Linked DNA regions of Homo sapiens: all the other regions are linked to region 1. The links are contacts of gene promoters, found by promoter capture Hi-C in blood cells and fetal thymus (Javierre and others, 2016). All regions are on one chromosome and are shown on one strand. The core of a region is centred on a gene start or on the middle of the fragment in contact, and the rest is flanking DNA. Distances in the headings are between cores, read along the strand shown.

The links. The method cuts DNA at HindIII sites, captures the fragments that hold promoters and counts their contacts. A CHiCAGO score of 5 or more calls a contact.
Region 2: the fragment with the promoter of DOCK9-DT here is called in contact with the fragment with the promoter of TPP2 in region 1 in 4 of 17 cell types (naive CD8 T cells, fetal thymus, total B cells and 1 more); the score reaches 12.5 in naive CD8 T cells.
Region 3: a contact is called between the fragment with the promoter of STK24 here and the fragment with the promoter of TPP2 in region 1, in 7 of 17 cell types (activated CD4 T cells, naive CD8 T cells, total CD8 T cells and 4 more). The highest score is 14.3, in activated CD4 T cells.

Annotation. Positions count from the first base shown.
Region 1 is chr13:102,595,644-102,598,343 of GRCh38, forward strand. It overlaps TPP2 (tripeptidyl peptidase 2), which reads left to right and starts at 1,343. Exons shown (of 30, transcript NM_001330588.2): 1 at 1,343-1,560. The coding sequence starts at 1,396. It overlaps LOC107984588 (a long non-coding RNA gene), which reads right to left and starts at 1,299. Exons shown (of 2, transcript XR_001749984.3): 1 at 805-1,299. RefSeq lists enhancers at 777-936, 987-1,046 and silencers at 1,117-1,406, 1,567-1,856. The HindIII fragment of the contact is 7,622 bases long and covers 1-2,700 here.
Region 2 is chr13:99,085,381-99,088,080 of GRCh38, forward strand. DOCK9-DT (DOCK9 divergent transcript) reads left to right here and starts at 1,343. Exons shown (of 1, transcript NR_047482.1): 1 at 1,343-2,700. It also overlaps a transcript of DOCK9 not described here. RefSeq lists silencers at 675-1,154, 1,195-1,504, 1,595-1,654, 2,235-2,464 and enhancers at 1,345-1,906, 2,469-2,700. The HindIII fragment of the contact is 5,433 bases long and covers 1-2,700 here.
Region 3 is chr13:98,575,794-98,578,493 of GRCh38, forward strand. STK24 (serine/threonine kinase 24) reads right to left here and starts at 1,314. Exons shown (of 11, transcript NM_001032296.4): 1 at 952-1,314. The coding sequence starts at 993. STK24-AS1 (STK24 antisense RNA 1) reads left to right here and starts at 1,462. Exons shown (of 1, transcript NR_046542.1): 1 at 1,462-2,700. RefSeq lists silencers at 348-1,217, 1,268-1,577, 1,598-1,747 and an enhancer at 1,838-2,027. The HindIII fragment of the contact is 9,197 bases long and covers 1-2,700 here.

The DNA.
Region 1 (2,700 bases), core at 93-2,592:
AGATACAAACCTCTTAATTTTTTTCACATCAAGTATGAATGTAGGCAAAAACCAGGGTAGTTATGCTGTTATGTCACCAATAAAAATCAGTTCATCGTAGTGCAGTTTTCACCGCTATCTCCAAATAATTATATTCTTCACTATTTTGAAGTTATGGTAGTTTATTAGCCTTGGCCCTAGCTCCTGTTATTTAATGCAAAAGAAGTACACCTGTAACTATACACACACACGTAAAGCTCCTGCTATATAACAAAATTGCCTTTAGTATTTTTGATAACTGCATTTAAACATAATTTATTTCCTGGGTAATCCTATCTATTTCATTGTATGCATTTTAAAACACTGCTTGAGAAATAGGCCTCACCAGATTGCCAAAGGGGTCTTCGGCACAATAAAAGGCTAAGATTACCCTGGCATGAGCATAGACATAAAGATCATTAGAGGACCACTATGCAGCTTGCAGCAACTGACGGCAGGCACTGTGAATCTGGAAAACTGAAAATTATGGCTCTATAATTGAGTGGACAGCCGTAAGGAGCAATCAGAAACTTCAGTGTAAGAGGAAAAAAAAAGATGTTTTTCAGAAATCCCGGAAGCTAAGGATCAGCAGAGGATAGGAGGGGCCCATTTCAGTCTCGTGCTTTGTTACTGGCTACAAAGGCGACGGAATGACCAACAACCCACTTCCTGTTGACTGAAACTATTGCCTGTCTCCACCCTATTGCTCCCCCTCACCACCTCACCCCCATCAAAGGGGCATAACAACACAGGGGAACCCAAAGTCTACACCCCTTAACCTACGACCTTCCAAAATCATGTCCGGAGCTTTCGCCGACACCGCAGACTCCTTAGCGGCTAAGCGTGAGTGCGCCGGCTCCCTTGCCTCGGGTCAGCAGCACCCCGGGGCTGGGGCTCCTGCAGCAGCCGCACCAAAAAGTTTCATCCACAACCTTAAGTTTGGAAACTATCGTTTGCCAAGCGAAGGGTTCCCATTATTCCTGGCTGGCGGTCCATCTCCTTGCCCGTCTCTCGGGGAGTGATTCGGTCCGGGACACCAGGACTCTGCTTGGAGGCCTGCTGTTGCCTAAAAACCCCAAGCGCGGGCCTCTTCAAGGCCCCAGGTTCGAGATCCGAACCCTCCAGTAATGTCCTCAGACTCCTCCCCCTTCACTGCAGCCCGGGCAATACTCGGGCCTAGCTCCTGAGAGCGGCGCCGTTGGCTTACGTAGCAGCACGTGATTGGCCACCGCTCCCTGGCAGGCCGGGATTGGTGGAAGACGGGCCGACCCCGCCCCTCGCCCCCGCCTCCGGCCCGAGGCCGCACGGGTGTCCTCGCGCTGCTAGTCCGCGCGCAGCCTGGCAGTTTGCCGCTTCCTCGTCCTCCATCCTGCGTCCATGGCCACCGCTGCGACTGAGGAGCCCTTCCCTTTTCACGGTCTCCTGCCGAAGAAGGAGACCGGAGCCGCCTCCTTCCTCTGCCGCTACCCGGAGTATGATGGGCGGGGGGTGCTCATCGCAGTCCTGGACACGGGGGTCGACCCGGGGGCTCCGGGCATGCAGGTGAGGCGGCCCCCGAGGGCCCGGGCGCGGGGGCGCGGGCGGCCGGGGACGCGGGTGGGGACACAGTCTCGGAGCCCGGCAGGCCAAAGCCCCGCTCTGCGGCCGAGTCCGGGCCGGGGTGGGCAGCACCGGGGTGGGCAGAGGTCAGAGCCAGGCGCGGGAGGGACGGGCGCCCGCCAAGGGGACTCAACGGCGCACAGTGCCAGGGTCGCTGGGCGGGCGAGGGCCCGGACCCCAGGTTGGGCCGTGGTCCCCCCAGCTCAACAAAAGCAGCGTGCCCGGCGCGGCTGCCTGGGGAAGCCTGGGTCCCCCTTTGGCCCCAGGGACTCCCCTTCCTTCTCGCTTCGGCGCTGCCAGGCCGGACCCCCCAGGCTCCTTCCCTCCACGCCGCCTTCCTCTGCCTACCCCTCGTGCCTCGGACACCGGTCCCAGCCTGACGTTTTTAAAGAGAATTTTACAGCTTTTATCATTGGGGTGGGGTGGAGACACCAGATAGGCAACTGACATGTGAGAACTTAATGTTTAGGGATCGGGAGATTTGGTTTGGGGAAGAATAGTTTGTCTTTAAGCACGAAAGCTGGGTTTCCAGAAGATAACCCAGTCCTCTTCCGGAATTGTTTCCTGTGGTAGTTTTGTGTATTCTATTTTTAAACGGTCTTCTGCAGCGTGTTTGCTTAGGGTCATTGAATCTTGTGGCTTAGTCTTCGTTTACATAAGGAGAATTCAGTTAGGTTTGGTTTTGGCGAGCTTCTCAGACCTTATGAAAATATGCGACTTTTTTTTTTTTAAACCTGAAAACATACGACGGTTTTTAAAAATTACTTAGTTTTTTGCCTTAGGCAACTTTAAAATCTGTAGATTCAAGGTATCATACCAGAAGGTAGTTTTTTTGAAAGTATGTTGTCTCTCGTTAAAAGCATTCTGTTTAAAGTCTTTAAAGTTTAACTTTTGTACTTTTAACCCTTTACTGAAATCCAGTAATAAAATTTCACCGTTATTCAAGATCCATCTCCCAGCATCCCTGACTAATCCTACTGTATGCTGATCTCTCGTTGATCAGCCCCTGGCTATCTTATCCTCCTTTCTACACTAAACACTCATCCTCCTCCCCACAATGTCCCTTCCCTTCTGGATCCTTTA
Region 2 (2,700 bases), core at 93-2,592, 3.5 Mb before region 1:
TCAAACGTCGCTCCACTCCCGCACCATCCAGGTGAATCGGGTTGTAGTGCGTTTCCAAATACAGCAGGACCGGCGCTGGCTGTGAAAAAGTTAATCGAAAACTTCATCTTCCTCACACCCAGAGGCCTATTCTCTAAAGACGTTCTGCCACGGGAAGATTCGTTTTGGGCTGATGGCTTTGCTTACTTAGAACCCCCAAACGTCACAGGAATTTGCACCAATACTAAATTAGCGAGGGTTCCCATCATGCCCCCCAAGCCTTCCTAAAAGGCGGCCAAACTTCAGGATACCGGCTTGGAGGTGGGGGGCGCAGGAGAGGATGCCGAAGTCCTTCCCTCCTGGAGTTCAGCCAACTCAAAGGGTTAGCAGGGGCATCTCCCACCCTGAGCGCAGACTGGATGAGGAAGCCCCCACCTCAATTCCCCTGCGCCCCTCCAAAACATGGAAGGAGAGGGAGGCCGGGGGAGGGATACGGGGGAGGGATGCGGGGGAGGGGGGAGAGTGTAATTTCCCAGTTGACAGAAAGCAGGTAAATTGGGAGAGAGCGGGGTGAAAAGAGTGACAGGGCGACATCACTCTGCGGAAATTTCCCAGGAGGAAGGGGACAGCGATGGGGACAGGATCTTGGGTGGCGGGGAGGGGTCTGGGAGTTGCAGCCCCTCCAGGACCTTCTCTTCTCCCCTGTCCAACTCCCTCCCGCCGGCCCCACCTCTTGATTCCGCGGACCCAGCAGGGTCGGCCGCTCTGCCTCAGCCCTGCCGACTAAGAGGCGCCCGGCCCGGGGCCCGCAGCTGCCTGCGCCCCCGCCATCCTCCCCCGGCCCGCGGTCGTCCCGCACTCACCAGGAGCACGGAGCCGCGCACCACCTCAGACACGCTCTGCCGCAGCTCGGCCGCCGTGCCCGGCTTACTCAGCGCCCGGGTGAACTTCCGAGTCTCCGCCGAGGCGGGGAGCAGCGGCGGCTGCGACATCCTCCTGCCCCCGCCGCCTCCGCCTCCGCCTGCTCCCGCGGCCCGGCCCGGCCGCGCGGCCGCCAGGTGCGCCCTCGGCGCCCGGCCCGCTCCGCCCGCCGCTCCCGGCGCCGCCGCCGCCTGCTCCCCCCGCTGCTCGCCGCGAGTCCGGCCGCCGCAGCCCAGGCCGCGCCCTCTGCACCGTGTCACGCCCCAAGGCGCCCCCCTCGGCGTCCGCGGCCCCCCGCGATCGCAGCAGCGCCCGGGCTCGCTCCGGGCGACCGTGCGTGTGGCGGCGGCGGCTCCCCCATGCCACCAGCCTCCCTCGGCGACCACTCGCCGGGCCGCCTCCTCGGGGCGGGGTGTCCGGCGCGGCGCGGGCGGGGCGGGGCGCCCGGACGGCGGAGGAGGGGCCGCCGCGGCGGGACGGCGGGCCAGGCAGGTCGGCGCGGCCCGGCGCTGGAGCTAGGCGGCCGGACTGGCAGGGGCGGCGTGCCGCGCGGGACCCTCACTGGGGAAGGTGGGGGGTCGGGGCCGCCTCCGCCCCGGGCCGCACGTCCGAAGACCGGAGGAGGGGACTGCGCACGCCACCAAGAGGGCGCACAGCCGAGGCTGGACGATGCGCGGTTTCGGAGCAGGGTTTCCTGCCCAGGGAGCCCGGCTGCGCTCGAGGGGACCCCGAAGTCACCGGCAGGGTCGGAGCTCGGTGCACCACGCCCCCCCTCTGCGCCCGGGGCCTCTGCGGGGACAGAGGTCTCAGGAAAGTAGCCTTTATTTATGTGGCACCGATCGGAACCCGCGGCCGGCCAGGCGGACCTGGACGGAGCGTCCCTGCTCGGAACCTGGCGCGGGGCGCCGCGCGCTCGTGTGGCGCCTCGGCCTCCCCACCGTTCAGTCCCCGGAGGCACGGAGCTCGCGGCGGGACGATGACGGTTGGGCCGGGCCAGGCGTGGGAGACTCCCAGACTCCGGCCCGCCGGGACGGCCAGCTGCGTCACCTTGGACGTGGGCAATACTTCGGAGCCTCGGTTATGTCGCCTGTAACCTGAGGACAACGGCCTGGAAGGGGCTCAGGTGACACGGCGGCCCTCACTGGGGCCGATTTAGCCGGTCTGCCGCCCCTCCGCGCCGGACCGCCAGGCGGGGTACCAGGGAAACTGCGATGCGCCGGCTTGCGAGCCCACCGTGACGCAGAGCTGGCGGCCGCTAGCGACAGCCACCCTGTGAGGGACTTTCCCCCCAATACCCTAACCGCTTTCCTGTCCCTAAGGGCCCGCTCCCGCCCCGGCTCCGTTTCTGTCTCTCTGAGGAAGCCCGGCGCAGCCTAACCCTCACAGGGCCGCGGAGAGGGCGCGCCAGGCGGGGATTTGCGCCAGGCCCGCGGCGCATGCTCAGTGGTTGGGGACTGGGCGGGTACCCCGGGCGGGGAGCCTGACTGAACGGCGGCTCTGCTGATTGGTCGGGCTGCTCACGCCACGCCCGTTGCCTTCCGATGGACAGTTCCTTACCTGCCGGGTCGGCCTCCGCAGAGAGTGGTGGTCTTGAAAACCCAGTTTTGGGAGAATACCTGCCGCGCCTCCCGCCCAAATACCCAGAGGTTTCATAGCCGCCATCGCTGCGGTGGAGGAGGCCGCCTGTTGCGTCCCACCCCACCAGAAAGCCTAACACTGGCCTGAAGCGTAATCTTAAAGTGGTAGGGGAAAATACCGATCTAGCGCAGAGAGCAAAACACCTCCGTTCTGGGTTTAATG
Region 3 (2,700 bases), core at 64-2,563, 4.0 Mb before region 1:
AAGCATTTTGCCACCATTTCTGCGCCTACAAAGTTTACAAGAGTTAGCCAAGGACGGTAGCTTTGTTTTTCAAAGGGCTAAAAGCAACGACAACGAAAACAACAACAACAAAAAACCTTTAACTTATACATGTAAATTTGAAATTCAACTCCTCTCCCACTCCCCAAAAAGTCACTGGTAGGCCAAGGTGTCACCAAGTACCGAAAGAGAGGTTTACTGGGCGAAGAATTCCTGTAAATGCAACCAAGTCTCAAAGTGAAAGTCCAGGGTCCCGGGGCCGGGCCCGGGACCCTGGTGCGCGGCTGTCCGAGGGATTCCTCCTTCCAGAAGGTTTGCAACTCGCACTTTCCCCCGGTCCGCAGGTGCACGGGGGCTCCGGGCAAAGCCACTGCAAGTGGAACTCGCGGTTACCTTCCTCCACTCCACCCTGCCTACTCCGCTCGGGCCCGGACGAGTCCAGGCGCGCTCCCCGTCCCCGCCCTGCCCAGGTCTCCCGCCCGCCTGCCCGGGGGTGGGGGACGAGCCTGGGGGACGCGTCCTGGGGCCCTCCGCCAACCCGGCCACCACGCAGGGCCCCGGGACCCGGCGGGGGCCTCCAAGGGCATCACTCCACCTCACTTCTCCCGGGGACAGGGCCACCCAGGGCCTGCAGCTCCGGAAGAGTGTTGGGGCGAGGGGAGCGCGGAGGACTAGGCGCCCGCACCCCCACATCCGGACCCAGGCCGCGGTTCCTACGGCTCCTGCACGCACACGCCGGAGACCTCGGCCGCCGGAGCCGGCAGGGACGCCCAGGGACTCGGACTCGGACCCCCGGCCGAGCCGGGCGCGCGGGGAGCCAGGCTCCGGCGCGACCCCGGCCGGCTGAGCGTAGGGGGACGCCGTGTGGATACCGCCAAGTTGCTGCTTCCGCCCCGGTCGCGCATCCCGGCCCCGCGGCCCGCGCCCGCCTACCTGCATGCCGGGCAGGCCCGACTGCACCGGGGAGTGAGCCATGGCGCTCAGGACGGCCACTTCCTGGGACGGGACGGCCGGGCCGCGACGATCCGCGCGGGGCGGCGAGGCCCGCGGGCCGCGCGCAGCCCTCGGGCGGCGGGGCCGGCCGGAGCCCGAGGCCACCCCAGCCCTGGCGGGTCCCGGCCGGGCGGCGGGGGCTCAGCGGCGGGTGGCGGGCCGCGTCTCCATGCACGGCGCCAGGGAGGAGCTGCTGGGGGCGCAGGGCCTCGCGCGCACTGCCGCCGCCGCCGCTGCTGCCGCTACTGCTGGGCTGGAGCCGGGCGGCCTGGGCCCGCGCGCGCTGGCCGCTGGAGCCGGAGTGGGCGCGCACAGCCCGCCGAGCCCGCGAGCGCCGAGCGCGTCCCGCCCCGGCCCGGCCCCCGCGCCCGCCCCCACGGCCCGGCCGGGGACCCCGCCCCGCGCTTCCGGGAGGGGGAGGGGAGAGGCCGGTGGCCGCGCGGGAGCCCTAGGCCGCAGCCGCCGCCTGTCGGCCCGGCCCGGGTCCCAGCTGCTCCTGCGGCGCTCCCACGCCCCCGCGGGCGGGCGGCGGGGCCGGGAGGGGGCCTCGGCTGGGGCGGGCGCCGGGAGGGACCGAGTCGGGGCCGGAGGCTGGCCGCGTGCCCACCGGGCCGGCGCCGGGGCGAGCCTGGGCCGCGGCCCCCTCTTCCCGCCAGCCAGCCCACCCCGCCCCGGCGGCCTCTGGGAAAACGCGTCCCGGGCGAGCCCCTGAGGGCAGGATCGGAGTCGGGGGCACCTGGGGAAGGAGAGCGCCCCGTGGGGCCTCGGCCGGTGGCCTGTGCCAAAAGGCCGGGCAGAGCTGCTTCGGTGTCTGGGTGAAGTTTCCAGCCAACCCAAGAAGGAAACCGAAAGGGAAGAGGCCGAGAGAGAGGTTAATTCCTAGTGCTTTGGTTACCGAAAACAGCCCGGCTGGGACTGCTGGGCTGGGAACTTAGCTAAGCAGTGCGGAGGCTGAACCCCACCATCTCTGGGATCCGCAGCAAATCAGAAGCCCCCACCCACGATAAGGGGAAAATGGGGCGCAGAGGGCAGGGAGGAAGGGAAGAGAATGGAAGGAAAGCGCGTCTGGACTTTGAACTGCAGCCCTCTCCCTCTTTCCCTTGCCTCGGAAGCTCCAGGCCCACTCAGCACCAGTTCTGTCTCCTCTTTTCAGCCGCCTTCTCTCTAGCTACTGAGGGGAAAAGTCAGGATGAAGCGGGTCCCTCGGCCTCCAGAAGGTGTTTTATTACAGTCGCAAACAGGTAGAGCGGCAGCCACCCCAGTGATGACTCCCTGCTCCTTAGATTGTAGGGACGCTGGCACCTCACTCATGCTCCTAAGTGGCCATTTTGCGCCCTGGCTGGGCGAGTTAGGCAGACAAAATGAGCCCCCAAAAGTTTAAAGGCCTCCACCAAAGGAGTATTTCTTTTCTGAGGTGTCATTGTATTCCATCCACGAACTTCAGTTCCCCCGGGTGCTCTGGATCTGACATGGAGTAGGATGCTAACATCTAATCCCTTCTTTCCCTTTGGAAAGATGCATGTTTTTTCTCGGAGTCCTAGGGAATACCTTAGAATACTTTCATGGTTGTCATTGGTACACCCATCCCTTGAGGAGCCCTGCCACCCGTAAGTAGGACTGCAAGGAAATACAAAATTAAGAGAAGTATGAACCCTGATACCCAGGAACTTAAAATCAGGTGTATAAATT